Linked DNA regions of Homo sapiens: regions 2, 3 and 4 are each linked to region 1. The links are contacts of gene promoters, found by promoter capture Hi-C in blood cells and fetal thymus (Javierre and others, 2016). All regions are on one chromosome and are shown on one strand. Each heading gives the region's core, a stretch centred on a gene start or on the middle of the fragment in contact. The rest is flanking DNA. Distances are from core to core; before and after follow the strand shown. Region 1 holds the start of IMMP1L (inner mitochondrial membrane peptidase subunit 1). Region 2 holds the start of CCDC34 (coiled-coil domain containing 34). Region 3 overlaps KIF18A (kinesin family member 18A). Region 4 overlaps METTL15 (methyltransferase 15, mitochondrial 12S rRNA N4-cytidine).

The links. Contacts are between HindIII fragments. The CHiCAGO score rates a contact against its expected background, and 5 or more counts as called.
Region 2: a contact is called between a fragment that was not itself captured here and the fragment with the promoter of IMMP1L in region 1, in 1 of 17 cell types (fetal thymus). The highest score is 5.0, in fetal thymus.
Region 3: a fragment that was not itself captured here is called in contact with the fragment with the promoter of IMMP1L in region 1 in 3 of 17 cell types (non-activated CD4 T cells, total CD4 T cells and naive B cells); the score reaches 8.1 in non-activated CD4 T cells.
Region 4: a contact is called between a fragment that was not itself captured here and the fragment with the promoter of IMMP1L in region 1, in 1 of 17 cell types (total B cells). The highest score is 6.6, in total B cells.

Annotation. Positions count from the first base shown.
Region 1 is chr11:31,507,713-31,511,235 of GRCh38, reverse strand. IMMP1L (inner mitochondrial membrane peptidase subunit 1) reads left to right here and starts at 1,614. Exons shown (of 6, transcript NM_001304274.2): 1 at 1,614-1,717. It overlaps ELP4 (elongator acetyltransferase complex subunit 4), which reads right to left and starts at 1,469. Exons shown (of 10, transcript NM_019040.5): 1 at 1,229-1,469. The coding sequence starts at 1,451. RefSeq lists enhancers at 1,165-1,454, 587-1,476. The HindIII fragment of the contact is 1,748 bases long and covers 381-2,128 here.
Region 2 is chr11:27,360,025-27,363,547 of GRCh38, reverse strand. It overlaps CCDC34 (coiled-coil domain containing 34), which reads left to right and starts at 333. Exons shown (of 6, transcript NM_030771.2): 1 at 333-712. The coding sequence starts at 354. RefSeq lists enhancers at 1-76, 72-939 and silencers at 317-386, 2,232-2,526. The HindIII fragment of the contact is 3,738 bases long and covers 125-3,523 here.
Region 3 is chr11:28,096,252-28,099,774 of GRCh38, reverse strand. It overlaps KIF18A (kinesin family member 18A), which reads left to right. Exons shown (of 17, transcript NM_031217.4): 2 at 1,782-2,152. The coding sequence starts at 1,828. Among named protein-coding and RNA genes, the nearest start is that of KIF18A, 10 kb to the left of the region's middle. The HindIII fragment of the contact is 3,247 bases long and covers 77-3,323 here.
Region 4 is chr11:28,116,237-28,119,759 of GRCh38, reverse strand. The region is part of intron 3 of METTL15 (methyltransferase 15, mitochondrial 12S rRNA N4-cytidine); the gene reads right to left. Among named protein-coding and RNA genes, the nearest start is that of METTL15, 9.6 kb to the right of the region's middle. The HindIII fragment of the contact is 7,760 bases long and covers 1-3,523 here.

The DNA of each region.
Region 1 (3,523 bases), core at 365-2,864:
ATTTGCTAACTAGATATTTTGAATCACTTCTATTTACAGTACCATGCAACTCAGGAGGAAAATATATTTGAAACAATTAAGTGAAAAATACTTAAACTTATCTAGAAATAACCGGAAAATGAAATGAGAGAATCAAGAAGCCATACTCTTTCTCATAGGTTGCTGGTCTTCTTACTTTCTCTGCACTAAACCTATGAAAAGCCTACTTTGAGGGGAAAATAACCGAAAGAAATGTCAAACGAAGTACAAGAACAAGCAATGAGTTATATTTTATGAAAGTGTACAAGATTTAACAGACACATATCACACACTATGAAAAAAGTTATGTAAACACAGACGGGGTTTTAATGAAACAGCATTCAGAAATTAATCTAGAAGCTTTATTAACACAGCAAATCTGTCCTACCAACTTAATCTGGTCATTCCTTTGAATATAACAGTTATGAAACAAGCATATTCTTCAGCAGGCTTCTCATAAAAAATTCCAGAGATTTTAAAGGAAAGCCTAAGAACTAGACTTTTCTCGTTAAAATGTGAGTTAAATTTAAAGATGTCGTATGGAATGTAGCAGCAATCAATACTGGGAAGCAAAATGTATATAGAAAAAATAAAAAATATATACACAGATTTAACGCAGACACTATCTAAATATCAACGACAGGCTCAAAATACTTTATAAGGATTATGTGTCAACATAAGCCTTTAACATTCGCTCTCTTAAAGCCAAAATGTTTTAAGATTTAGAACCAGAGAACAGGCAGTCTGACGGTCAAAGAGGGGAAATCATTTTTTTCCAGCATCTTCTAATGAAGTCTGTCTCTCACAATTATAAAAACTTTTGCAGGCTGGTCTAAACCGTGAGCTGCCTGGAGAAAGCAGAAGGGAGGTATCCTGAATGAAAGCCAAACCATCTCCATAAATTAATGTCTTCCCTTGACTAGAAAGCATTTCAGGGTAAAAAGCATGTACGAATTCCTCCGTAATATGAAAAGGGGTTGGAGGGCAGGGAATGAAATAGAGAGCGAGGGCACTAAAACATGTTTAGTTAACAGCGCTCAGAAGTCTCCACACAACCCGTATTCCCCTCCATCTCAATCAGACCAGGCTATTCTCTCCTCCTCCGAAGGTTTAGGGGTCAGAAAGAGATGTGGGGTCAAAGTGGCTTCCCCGACAGGTCCCCTCCCTAAGTTTCCCCTCGGCTGAGCCCAGATCTCCGCTCTGAACCGACCTAAGAGCTGGTCTAGGGCTGGGAGCCCGGTTGATACCAGCAGCTGTCCATTCCGCACCGACGGTCGCGTGCCCGCAATGGACACCAGTCGAGGGCCGCTGTCGTTGGTCACGCTGGCTCTAGGACCCCTCCTCTGGAAACTGGTGACGTTGCTCTTGCTGGCTGTCGCCACTGCAGACCCAGTACTCGCGGCAACACTACCGCAGGTTGCCACTGCCGCCATCTTAGAGCCTCCAGTGTTAACCCAATAGGAACTCTGGGAACGCAAACACCCGTCCTATCAGAACCAGTGCCAAACTCCCGCCTCCTCGCCCCAACCGCGGCTCTCGTAACCAATAGGACTGAGACGTCAGTCCCGAGCCAACCAATCGGAAGGCGTATTGCTGAAAAGTGCGCCCTACGAAAGGACGGTCGACTTCGGCGGGGCCCAGGTGAGAAAGGCCCACCTGTGTCCTGGTTGAGGGTCTCCAGGGTTCTTTGGGGCCCGAGGTAGGTAATATCACGTAACGTTCTTCTCCTTTTGAGTGCCTTCATTCACATTGAGTTAAAGAAAAGGTTGGTGAAACAATAAACCCTTAGGGCTTATCAAGCAATTGCTAGCACCTTTCTCCGCTGTGTGTGAGGATAGACTTTTTTCCTGCTCATTTATCTTCTGATTTCTGATAGAAAATTCACTCCGCCTTCCCCACGATGTCTTTTTCTTAATTTTGTGTTATATGGAAAGGATGGGATCTCTTACCTTAATGAGTTGGTTGCTGAGCGTCTGGGCTTAGTTCGTTAGTGCCTAGTGGTAGGTGGTTTGGAATTAAACCTTAGAGCGAAAACTCTTGAACTTTGAGGCTATCTGGTTTTCCTGTGTCTGACAAACTATAGCTCTCTGACAAGTTCCGATAAGAAGCTTTTGTTAATTTTAATTAGTGTTTCTGGAAGTCTTGGATGTCTTTCCTAAGCGGTGTAAATGACAAGTGTTACTCTGACAACCTTGTTCACACATTTAATTGTCGTTTGCTGTTAAAGCAGCTGCAAATAACAGAAAATACTTAGGGTTTCTTTCCCCCAAAAAACTGCTAGGAAGAATTAGAAGTATACCTACTTTATTTTATGAACCCTGAATCGAGAGTTTATTACTAAAATACCAATTTTATGTGTGGAAAAAACATGTATTTTGAGTTGTATTTTTGTATTTAATTTTTTTTTCAAAACTGAGCAGGGACAGTGGGTAACTGATGTTTAAAGGCAATCATGATTGACAAATGTCTAAATTGAAAAGGACTCCCAAATCATTACCGCACTACTGAGTTATTGACTTTGACAGTGATCTGTGATACCTTTTAATTAGAGCCAAACCTCATTGAAATTCTTGCCATCGAATTGTTTTAAATCTCACTGACCTGTTGAAATTTTTGGGCTGATTCTGTTTGATAAATTGAAATTAGTATTGCTAAATAGTGACTGGAGTTTTTCATTTGGGGAGGATTTTTGTTTGTTTGCTTGTTTTTTAGAATCATGTTTAGGAAAAAACCCTGTTTCACAATATATCAACTGGAAAGCTTTGATCAAGGTTGCTTTCATATTGAATCTTTAAGTTACTCAATAAATAGCTGTTGAGTGATTACTGTCTGTTTGGACTTAATCTTGTCATTTTAGACCTATGGTAATAAAAATGGTCTCACCTGGAGGAGATAAAATTAACACATAGAAAACAACATAGTACTTAAAATGAACACATTAAATAGCATGTGCTAATTTTATCCTGTAGTAAATAAGCACTAGGAAGACCAAAAGAAAAAGTGACAAAGCAGTCCAATATCAGATAGAAACGTCTTGAATTTTTTTTTTCTTCAACTTTTGTTTTAGGTTCTGGGCTTCATGTGCAGGTTTGTTACATAGGTAAACGTGTGCTGTGGTGGTTTGCTGCACAGATCAACCCACCACCTCGGTATTAAGCCCAGCATCCATTAGCTATTCTTCCTGATGCTCTCTGTCCCCCCACCCCTACAAATATTTTTGATGCTGTGAACTTTTTGAAATGCTACATATAATTATTATTTTTTGACAGATGGCATTGTTTTGTGTACCTCATGATGCTATGAAGTGTATGTACATTCCGGAATCGTTAAATCTAGCTAATTAGCAATGCATTACCTCACATAGTTATCATTTTTGTGGTAAGAGTACATAACATCTACACTGTTTACATTTTTTTAAAGAATACAATATATGATTATTAACTATAGTCAGCTTGCTATAAATTCATGTTATATAATAGATTTCTTGAAATTTATTCCTCCTATC
Region 2 (3,523 bases), core at 744-3,243, 4.1 Mb after region 1:
GTAACATATTTCATGTACAAAATGAACTGCAACACCACGGCAAACAAGGGACAGGCCCTCAAAGTTGTCGGTAGGGAGCCAGGACCCCGCCAGTGGCGTGGGGAGACACCGTACTAAACAAGCTTGCAAACAGCAGGCACCTTCCTGCCACTGAGGAGGAAGGGCTGGCTAAGGGAGGCCGGGGCGGAGGAAGCCAAGCTCTGCAGGCCCTGACAAAGTCCTCCCGGCCTCCACGCGTCGCCATGGCAACGCGGGGTCTGTGCTGGCCGGGATTGGCCGGCCTGGCGCGCGCAGGGCCCGCTGGGAAAGCGCGTCCCCGCCGCGGCTCCGCCAGTTTGAACTTGGCGGGCCAGATGTGGGCGGCGGGGCGCTGGGGGCCTACTTTTCCCTCTTCCTACGCCGGTTTCTCTGCTGACTGCAGACCCAGGTCTCGGCCCTCCTCGGACTCCTGCTCAGTCCCTATGACGGGCGCACGTGGGCAGGGGCTGGAGGTGGTGCGCTCGCCGTCGCCGCCGCTGCCGCTGAGCTGCAGCAATTCCACCAGGTCGCTGTTGTCTCCCCTTGGCCACCAGAGCTTCCAGTTTGACGAGGACGACGGTGACGGGGAGGATGAGGAAGACGTGGATGATGAGGAAGACGTGGATGAAGATGCCCATGATTCAGAGGCCAAAGTGGCGAGCCTGAGAGGAATGGAGTTACAGGGGTGCGCCAGGTAAACCCGAGGCCGCCCGGCCGATTCAGCCCTTTTCAAGATTCCTTAGACCCTCTTAAGTACCCCCTTCTAACATCCTCCTGCCCTCCGCCCCAAAGGCAGAGCAGGCACTTGCAGACTGAGGTGCCGTGGTTTTTTTTGCACATAAAGAGCCCTGTGCAAATTCTTGCAAATGACCATAGATTTCCTATGGCTCTTAATCCTTTTTTCCTGAGATATTATGATTGCTGCAGTCTCACTTCCCAGAAAAATGTACATAGTCTCAAACACACAAAACTCTGCTACCATTTCAGGCGTTCTATGAATCCTCAAAAGCCAGATTGTGCACTGCAGAACTCTTATCCCAAACCTGAACACCAGAACGTGGTTTACTGCACCTTAGTAGTACCTGTGGTTGGTTATTCTGAAAACATACTGATTGCTAGTGAAGTAGGTTGTAGTAAACAGGTCACTTTTTATAACATAAAGTGCTGAAGCACAGAGATTAGCAATGTCAACCTCAGCATGTGGAGACGTGGTTAGAGAGGATCTGAGCATGCACAGAGGAATGGATGTCATTGTATCAATGTTAGGACCAATGGGGTTATTAAAACTGTCTTAATTTGTTTATTTCTACTGTTACTCACTCAGCAAACATTGTTTGCCACATATTAGTCTACGTACTGGGGACCGTAAACAAGATACTGGTCTCTACTCTCATGAATTGAAGCCTAAATCAATCCACTTATTTTACAGATAATAAAACCATGGCTCAGAATGCAAAAAGTGACTCAAAGGCATGCACCTAGTTATTAGCAGACCTGGGTCTACTACGAAGATAGACAGATCATGTTCTCTTTCCTAAACTGCATGCCTAGTATTGGGTATACAGAAGTAGGAGCAAAGGGCCAATCCCTGAAGGAATATTTCTGAGACAGGCCCAGTAATGCAGGTCTATTCTGGGATAGACTCATTACGTTTTCTTCGGAAATCATTTACAAGTTTATGATTGTCAAGCTGTGTAAGGCACAGTACAGGAGCTCTAAGAAATACAGGCCAGAGAACTCATGCTTTATGTGTAAATAGCAAGATTCCCCCTTCAGTACAGGGTGTTCATATCCAGCATGAGTGAATGGAATATGGAACCCATATGAAGTAACCCGTATACATGGTTACAGGAGTGAATTAGTTACGAATGAGAAGTAAAAGTAAGTACATTGGTGGGAATGGAGATCAGAAAGAGTAACCAAGCAAGCCACTCATCCAGGCTGGTTGTAGCAACAAGAAACAGGCCTCCTCTGATCAACCTGATAGTAAAATTTAATGGTAGAGTTAGGGTTTCAGTAAATTGTTTTCATCTGGGCCTTTGTAGGTATTCTTCAGGACTGAGTTGGTCTCAAAGGTATTTAAAGTAAATTTGAAGGCTTTAGGAAATACTTTCTGAGCATAATCAACTGGACTAAGCAATCTGGACACAAGTTAGTGACCTGCGGAATAAATGACCATCGGAACTATAGCTCAGCTACTGAAACCTTGCATTAGTTTCCAAGAGCCAAAGCCCTGACTAAGTGGAGCCTGCCAGGGGAGGAGGTGAACGTATGTACGTCTCACTTATCCAAAGCCAGAATGAGCTGGTAGCACCACAGGGCTAAGGCTGCCTTCCTTATCACATTTCAGTCCCTATGAATCAAAGGAGTAGCTGGGACGTGGGTTTGAAAAGAGAATGCTGAAGTTGTCAAGCATTGTGTGTGGCAAGTGTCAGATGCTTATTAGGTGCTCAATAAACGTTTGCTGACTGCATGTCCATTTCCCACTTCCTAAAGAACAGATACATGCAGTGATTATTGTCAAATGCTTCAGAAACTTAGCACTTCCTTTCAGGAAAGGTAGATTTTTAGAAAATTTCCTCATTCTTTCTCTCCATTGGTCCTAACATTCTTTGATACAATGACATCCATTCCTCTGTGCATGCTCAGATCCTATCTAACCATGTCTCCACATGCTGAGGTTGACATTGCTAATCTCTGTGCTTCAGCACTTTGTGTTATAAAAAGTGACCTGTTTACTACAACCTACTTCACTAGCAATCAGTATGTTTTCAGAATAACCAACCACAGGTACTACTAAGGTGCAGTAAACCACGTTCTGGTGTTCAGGTTTGGGATAAGAGTTCTGGAGTCCACAATCTGGCTTTTGAGGTCAAACTGCTGACCTCTCTTTGGTGCCCTGGACAGCTTGGGGGTGACAGGATGAAGAGAGCAGGCAACCTGAGTCAGCCCTTTCATTGTTCTGGGTTTTGAGTATTCTGTGTGAAGCAGAGAGCAACCTAGAGCTGTGTGGGATTTTATGCCTTTTCTCCATGCCTCACCTGCCATATTGATCTGACTGGCAAAACGAATCGGGTAAGGCTTCTTTGAGCTAGGCTCAGGCATCAGCTGCACATAATGGATATTACCTCAAGGTATTTTTGGTATAAATAGTGCCATGTTTAGAGGATGCATTGACCTTCAAGGGTATTGGTCAGAACTGAGATTAAGCTCAAAGTTAGCTTCAGACAAGATAATGAGAAGCGTTTTCCTGGAATATTTTACAATGTGCTCTGGGCCTGCTGTTTATTCAGCTTTATCCTGGTTTTTCTACCACTATCCATTAGGAAAACCATGCTGTAATAAATATCTTGTTCACAAATGGCCACTTGTCAAGCCTTTCTTGATTATAAGTAGAGCTGTAGTGTGTGCGCCACACATTTTGAACACATTTGTTATAAATATTAAGGAAGGAAATTTAATATTCAAAGTGTCATTTCTTAAAAGAAAAGCCCACTGATCTGAT
Region 3 (3,523 bases), core at 451-2,950, 3.4 Mb after region 1:
TACACTCCCCTTTGCTCACTCCATTCTGGCCAACATAAAGTAGCACCCTGGGTCCTTCTCTCTATGGGGAAAAGCTTCCTACAATACCTGTATGACTAACTCCCTCACCTCCTTCAAGTCCTTACTTAAATGTTGTTTTGGGTGAATTTATTATTTTTGTCTCTTTTATTTTAACTTACAAATGACAAAAAAAATGTGTAAGTTTATAGGATACAATGTAATGTTTTGATACATGTGTACACAGTGGAATGAGCATATCAGGCTAATTAATTAACATATCCATCACCTCACATACCATTTTTTTGTTGTGAGAACATTTAAAATGTACTCTTAGCAATTAACCATGGTCACCTTGCTGTGCAATAGATCACCAAAACTATTCCTCTTGTATAACTGAAACTTTGTACCCTTTGACCAACATTTCCCCTTTTACCACCCACCCCACCCTCCTCAGCCTCTGGTAACCATTACTCTACTTCTCTGTGTTCATATTTTTAGATTCTGCATAAAAGTGAGATCATGTGATATTTGTCTTTTTGTACCTGGCTTATTTTACTTAGCATAATGCCCCCTAGATTCATTCATGTCGTCATAAATGACAGAATTTTAGTCTTTTTTAAGGCTGAATAGTATTTCATTGAGTGCATATACCACATTTTTTCGATCTATTTATCTGTTGATAGGCACTTAGATTGTTTATATATCTTAGTTATTGTGAATAATGTTGTAGCGAACATGGCAGGGCAAATATCTCTTCAACATACTGATTTTAATTCCTTTGGATATATACTCAGAAGTGGGATTGCAGGATCGTCCTAAGTCTCACCTTTTGGTCCTTACTCAGATCTTGTTGTTTTGGGGTGTTTTATTTTGTTTTGTGGTTTGGTTTTTTTTTGTCTTTTTGTTGTTGTTGTTGTTTGTTTTTTTGTTTTGGTTTTTGGGTCTGCAGATTCTAGAGTATTTTCTGGATAGTTGAGACTTCCAAATTATTGATCTTTGTTACTTTACTTTTCTTCTTTGCATGTGAACCAGTCATAAAATCAGACCATAATTTTTAAACCTGCTATCATTGATTCCTTAAACTTGCACACAATTAGAAAGCAGAGAGTAGGATCAATATTCAGAGACTAGGTCTCTGAATACACCAAGGAGTCTATGCCATCTCTATCACCTTCAGACCTGAGCTATCTAGTTGAATGCATCCTTGGAACTATTTTTAACCCTATGGGCTTCTGAGATACAGGTAGAGACCAGCCTGGGTGTATCACTTTCCACGGCCAAGGGGCTTGCAGCCAAGATCACTTTTACTAAAAATAGTTCACAAGCTAAGGCTCTCCAATCATACCTTGATATGGTTCTGGGAGATCCTTTTCTATTCATTCCCATGACCTAAGCTGAAATAGTGCTGGAGGGCTTGTGAAAATCAAATCTGGGTTTTAGGATAGCATATCTGTGATTATATATGGTTCAGCTATAGTATTTGAGTTTAAGCCAAATATCCTACTAATATTTCAGGTAAAGAGATTTTTATCGTAGTTGTGTGTACGTATGTGCCATTTAATTGTTTGTTTTAGGGTACTTAAGTGCATATGTGTGTATGTGTGCATATATTTGTGTGTGTGTGTTGTGTGTGCCTACGTATGTATGTATTTTTCCCCCAGTGTTTACCTAGTGAGTGAAACAGAATTATTAACATCTTTTTTGAATGAATACTACATGCCAGTTGTTTTGCATGAAAGTAAAAACTGATATTAAAACTTTATTTTCTTTTTTAATTTCAGAGAAGTATTCAAGTATTTATACAGATAGGAATCAAGATAATCAACAATGTCTGTCACTGAGGAAGACCTGTGCCACCATATGAAAGTAGTAGTTCGTGTACGTCCGGAAAACACTAAAGAAAAAGCAGCTGGATTTCATAAAGTGGTTCATGTTGTGGATAAACATATCCTAGTTTTTGATCCCAAACAAGAAGAAGTCAGTTTTTTCCATGGAAAGAAAACTACAAATCAAAATGTTATAAAGAAACAAAATAAGGATCTTAAATTTGTATTTGATGCTGTTTTTGATGAAACGTCAACTCAGTCAGAAGTTTTTGAACACACTACTAAGCCAATTCTTCGTAGTTTTTTGAATGGATATAATTGCACAGGTATTTGTTTCAATTTGGGATTTAATTTCTCTATCCGATTTCACTTTTGCATTAGGACGGACATCTACTTGACCCTTCTAAATATAATCAAATTTAAGGAGCTTGTATGCTAAAAATTCTTAAGAAATTCAATAGACTTGAACTGTAAATATAGACTTTGAAATTTTAGTTATCATATATAACTTATACATCATTTGTAAACCTTTCTCTTCCAGGGCCTTACTGTGGCCCCTATAGACATCTGTCCTTTCAGTTGCCTATGTTATTAAACCACATGCTTATTGCAATTAACATCAGTTTTCTCATAACCTGTATTTATAACTTTTCCTACAGCTTACCTATGTAATTATCTATTCCTGGAGAGTAGTCAGACATTTCTGAACATTTGACAGTTTCTTTTCAGCAGTTTTTCTTCATGGCACATTGAAATAAAAATGTTTAAGTTGGCGAAGGATAGGAGGAGACTGAGGATCAAAAAACTACCTATGGGGTACTACACTCCTTACCTGAGTGATGAAAAAATCTGTACACTAAACCCCGCAGCATGCAATTTACCCATGTAACAAACCTGCACTGTACCCCCAAACCTAAAATAAAAATTGGAAAGGGGGTAAAAGTGTTAAGATCCCATGTTAATTATCTCATGCCCTTTAGCTCATTGTTAGCCCAAGAAGCATCTTTAGTGCTTTTTTTGGCCTTTCAAGAAAGCCATGTTGATTTCCTTTTTAAAAAAAAAAAAAGAGAGAGAGAGAGAGAGATACCCAAGATGCAAAATGGCCAGTTTTTCAGTGCCTACCAGGCACTAAACACCATTATTAATATCTTATTTTTGTAATTATTAGTATTTATGATATTTTCCCCAAGACAGCTCACAACTATAACATGTTTCACTGTCTTTTCCTGATTCATTTCAGTTTTATCATGGAAGACATACCCTCTTGATCAAGTAAGGATGGAGTGTGGTTTATTGATTGGTACTACTGTGATTCCCATTTTTAAGAAGATATTCTTTTCCTCTTTCATGAAACTTCATATGTCTCTAGAGATTTTGAAATCTTCTTAACTCTAAGAAAAAAAGTAGACTCTCTATCAAACTACTATTGAATTTTTGGTTTCTTTTTGGCTTTCTTTATATTCTTACCCTGTCTTTAAGACAGCTTAAGAATAAGCTTAAGAATAAGCCATTTTAAACCTTCCTTATATACCAGCTTACATAAAATAGAACAAAGTAAAATATACACCATCTTAATTCATCCTACTGAAAAGTATTTTTGTGGTTTGTTAACATTTGGTTTAGCAGACAGATTGAATTTATAAAAATATTTTCAACCAATAATGATATGAGAAGTTATTGCCTTAACTGATTATTGT
Region 4 (3,523 bases), core at 576-3,075, 3.4 Mb after region 1:
TAAAATACTGCTACTGATCTTAAGAAAATTCCATTGTACAGAGCATAATGCATTTAATAAAGAAAATTATCAAAGCTAGTACCATAACTATAGAAAATCTAATAATTATAAAAAGTAATACTAAACATTATAACTTAAAATAGGTAAAAACTTACTTTGAAATATTTATAACCGAACCTAGCAAATTTAAACTATTTGTCATCATAATCTATTTTGCTTCCGTTTAGGTGCCAGCTTATTTTCTCAGCCTTTGTATCTGTTTTTTCAGATCAGTTACTTGATCAGACCTGGCCTGCCATACTGACGCTGAAATTATATAAAAGTCTTGAGCCAGAGAAGCTACCTCAGTACCCAAGGGACATTCCTCTTATTGGTGCCTCACATCTGTCTTCTAGTTTACTTTGACTTTTATTCATTCACTTAAAACATCATTACAAAACTACCATGTGGCAGGCCTTGTGCTAAGCACTAGAGATATAATGGTAAGCAAGACAAATATGTCCATGGCTTCATGGAGGGCAATCTACTAAGAGAGGTGTATATTGAACAAATAATCTCATCATAATTATAATTATGACTTATTAAGTTGCTATGAAGAAAAGTACATGATATATAATTGGGATACCTGTCTTCTGTGGAGGCTCATGAAAAGTTCCCATAAAAAGGTAAAACCTGACTCCAGGCCTGAAGGATGAAGATGAGGAGAGTTCCAGAAAGAGGAAACAGTACTTTTTCAGTTCCAGACAGGTTGGTTCCACCTTTGCTCTCCCCTTGCATTTTTCTCCTGAATTTCTTTTTTAATCTAGCTAACAACTTTGACTCTTTCTATTCCCATAGTAACAGCTAATGTTTATTGGGCTCAACTACTTGGAAGATACAATTCTAAACAATTTATGTATATTAACTCATCTAATCCTTACAGTAACCAGGAGTGAGATAGGTTCTCTTTCCTTATTTTACAGATAAGGAATCTGAGGCACAACCATGGAAAGTTAATTGACCAAACTGCACAGCTACTTGTACTAGTGGGGTACTTGTACCCTTATAATAACACTCAAAGAAGCCCCAAGGCACCAAGCTAAATTAGCACTACTACTGGGGCAAGAGTATCAGGTTTCCTATACTCTCCAAACTGCTACCATCTTAAACTAAGCAGAATTTAGCTATTTAGAAAATAACCAAACTTTTTTTTCTCCAGTTTTCAGAAATCAAGAATAAAAAGTTAATCTATTAGCCCAGACTAAAATATCTCCAGGAGAAAAAAAAAAGTTCTTAGGATAATACATTTTCACAAAAAGTTATTCACCTAGAATATGAAATGATGCAAACTAAGCAGGGAGAAATAATTATAATTTCTTTAATTTCTCCTTAACAATTAAAATTTTAAATACCTTCCAAGAGAAAGAGGATATTTTTCTCATAATTAAAACTAGTAAATATTTTAAGTGTATTTGAAAAACAAATCTGTAGTAAACTACATAGGTAGTAAACTAGCTATGATGCTAAAGAAATTCCCAAAATCACTATTTTCTTTAGGTGAGCACCTTTCAAGTATTAAAGAAAAAAGAACTATAAAATGCCTTGCACCTCACTTCAAATACATTCAGATATTTTTTAAAGTTCCTGTTACATCAAAAGTTTCATCTGGAGAATGGAGTGAACCTGCGAGGTGGAGCTTGCAGTAAGCTGAGATTGTGCCACTGTACTCCAGCCTGGACGACAGAGCGAAACTCCGTCTCAAAAAAAAACAAAAAAACAAAAAAAAGTTTCATCTGTAAATTCATCATTGAAGGTGATGCAGAAAAAGGTAATAGTAAGTAAGTAAGTGACTGATGCAAGTGAGTGTATGACTCATAGTTTGAAAAGGAAAATGATTTTGGGGAAAAGGCTCAGGAAGAAGAGAAGCAAATAATGGATTATGGACAAAATGAAGACCTTTCCTGTCCAAGGACTGTCACCAGTTCTTTATTACTTGAAGATTAAGGGAATAGTGAATAAAGCTGTCTGCCAGACAGCAGAAAAGGTAAGAAATAACATTGTCTCTAAGTGTACCTCACAAGAAAGTTTTTAGAAGTAACATTGGAAACATTAAACTTCTTATAAAAAGTTACTGGAAAACCCAACTCAAATCAGAAAAAGGAAAATGCCAAAATAAACCAACATTACATTTGTAGGTACTTGAACAGAATGAAACAGCAGTGTAGGTCAAGTTGTAGAATTATCTAATTTTATTCCACTTGGTTTTAGAAAATAGTTGGATACAATACTGATTTGCTAGAAGATGTAGTGCAATTTGTTTTTGTTTGTTTTTCTACTCCATGGCTTAGTGCAACATAAGCATTTGGCTTTGTTACTAGGGTTTAATAAACTAATACAATGTGCTTCGGTTTTTAGTTTCAGAAGTCAAGTTCAAGCCACTGAATTTGGTTCCAATTTTTACTAACTGCCCCTATCCTTTCATATATATATATATATATATATATATATATATATATATATACACACACACACACACACACACACATACATATATAGGTGTATATATGTATGTATATATACACACACTAACAAATATCACATATATTTCAATATACATTTTTTAAAACTCACACTTATGTATGGATTTTAATTGTTACCCCTGCATTATGGATCTTTTTAAAGCACGAAGAGAATTTCATTTTGATGAAGTCACTCACATTCAACAAGAAGTTTTATCCAATTTAATATTTTAATTTACATTTTCATGTATATTTGGAGTCCCACTACATGACAGCATTGAGCTAAATACTTTATACACGTAAATTCATTTAAGAATACTGGGTTTATCTGGGTGCAGCAGCTCACACCCATAGGACCAGCTACTCAGGAAGCTGAGACAGGAAGGATCACCTGAGCCCAGGAGTTCCAGACTACAGTGAGTTATGATCACATCACCATACTTCAGCCTCAACAACAGAGACAGACTCTCTCTAGAACAATTAAAATTTAAAAAAAAATTTTTTAAAGAATGCTGGATTTATTTTGTGTGTAAACTTGCCTGTGTATACTGCCTGAGGAGAAGGTAAATAATATTTTTATGAAGAACCCACATCGTATCACTGATGGCTTTTGTATGAGCAACATCTAGCCATTGTAGTACACCTTATACATATAGCTTAAATTTAGTTCATGAAAACTGCCTGATCCAACATGAAAAAGTTTCAGAAAAAAGAAAAGCTGGGTGTGTGCACACATGCACATGTTTCCTAGACAAGAGCTTAGAACCTAGGCAGTCCAGTTCCAGAATCTTTGCTCTTAACCACTAAGCAGTATGTTGGAAAAAGAAGAAAGATATAAAAATAACTGATTTAGATAAAAACAGTAGCTTCTAGAATAAGGGATCACATTTCTGAAGTCAGTACACTAAGAAATATAAGCATTAAATTATCTTTAAAAATTGAAGACAATCTACAATACTTTTTTCTCTTGTGAATGAATATACATATCAGAAAGTTTCTAGCTTTTTCGTTTTCAATATTATATC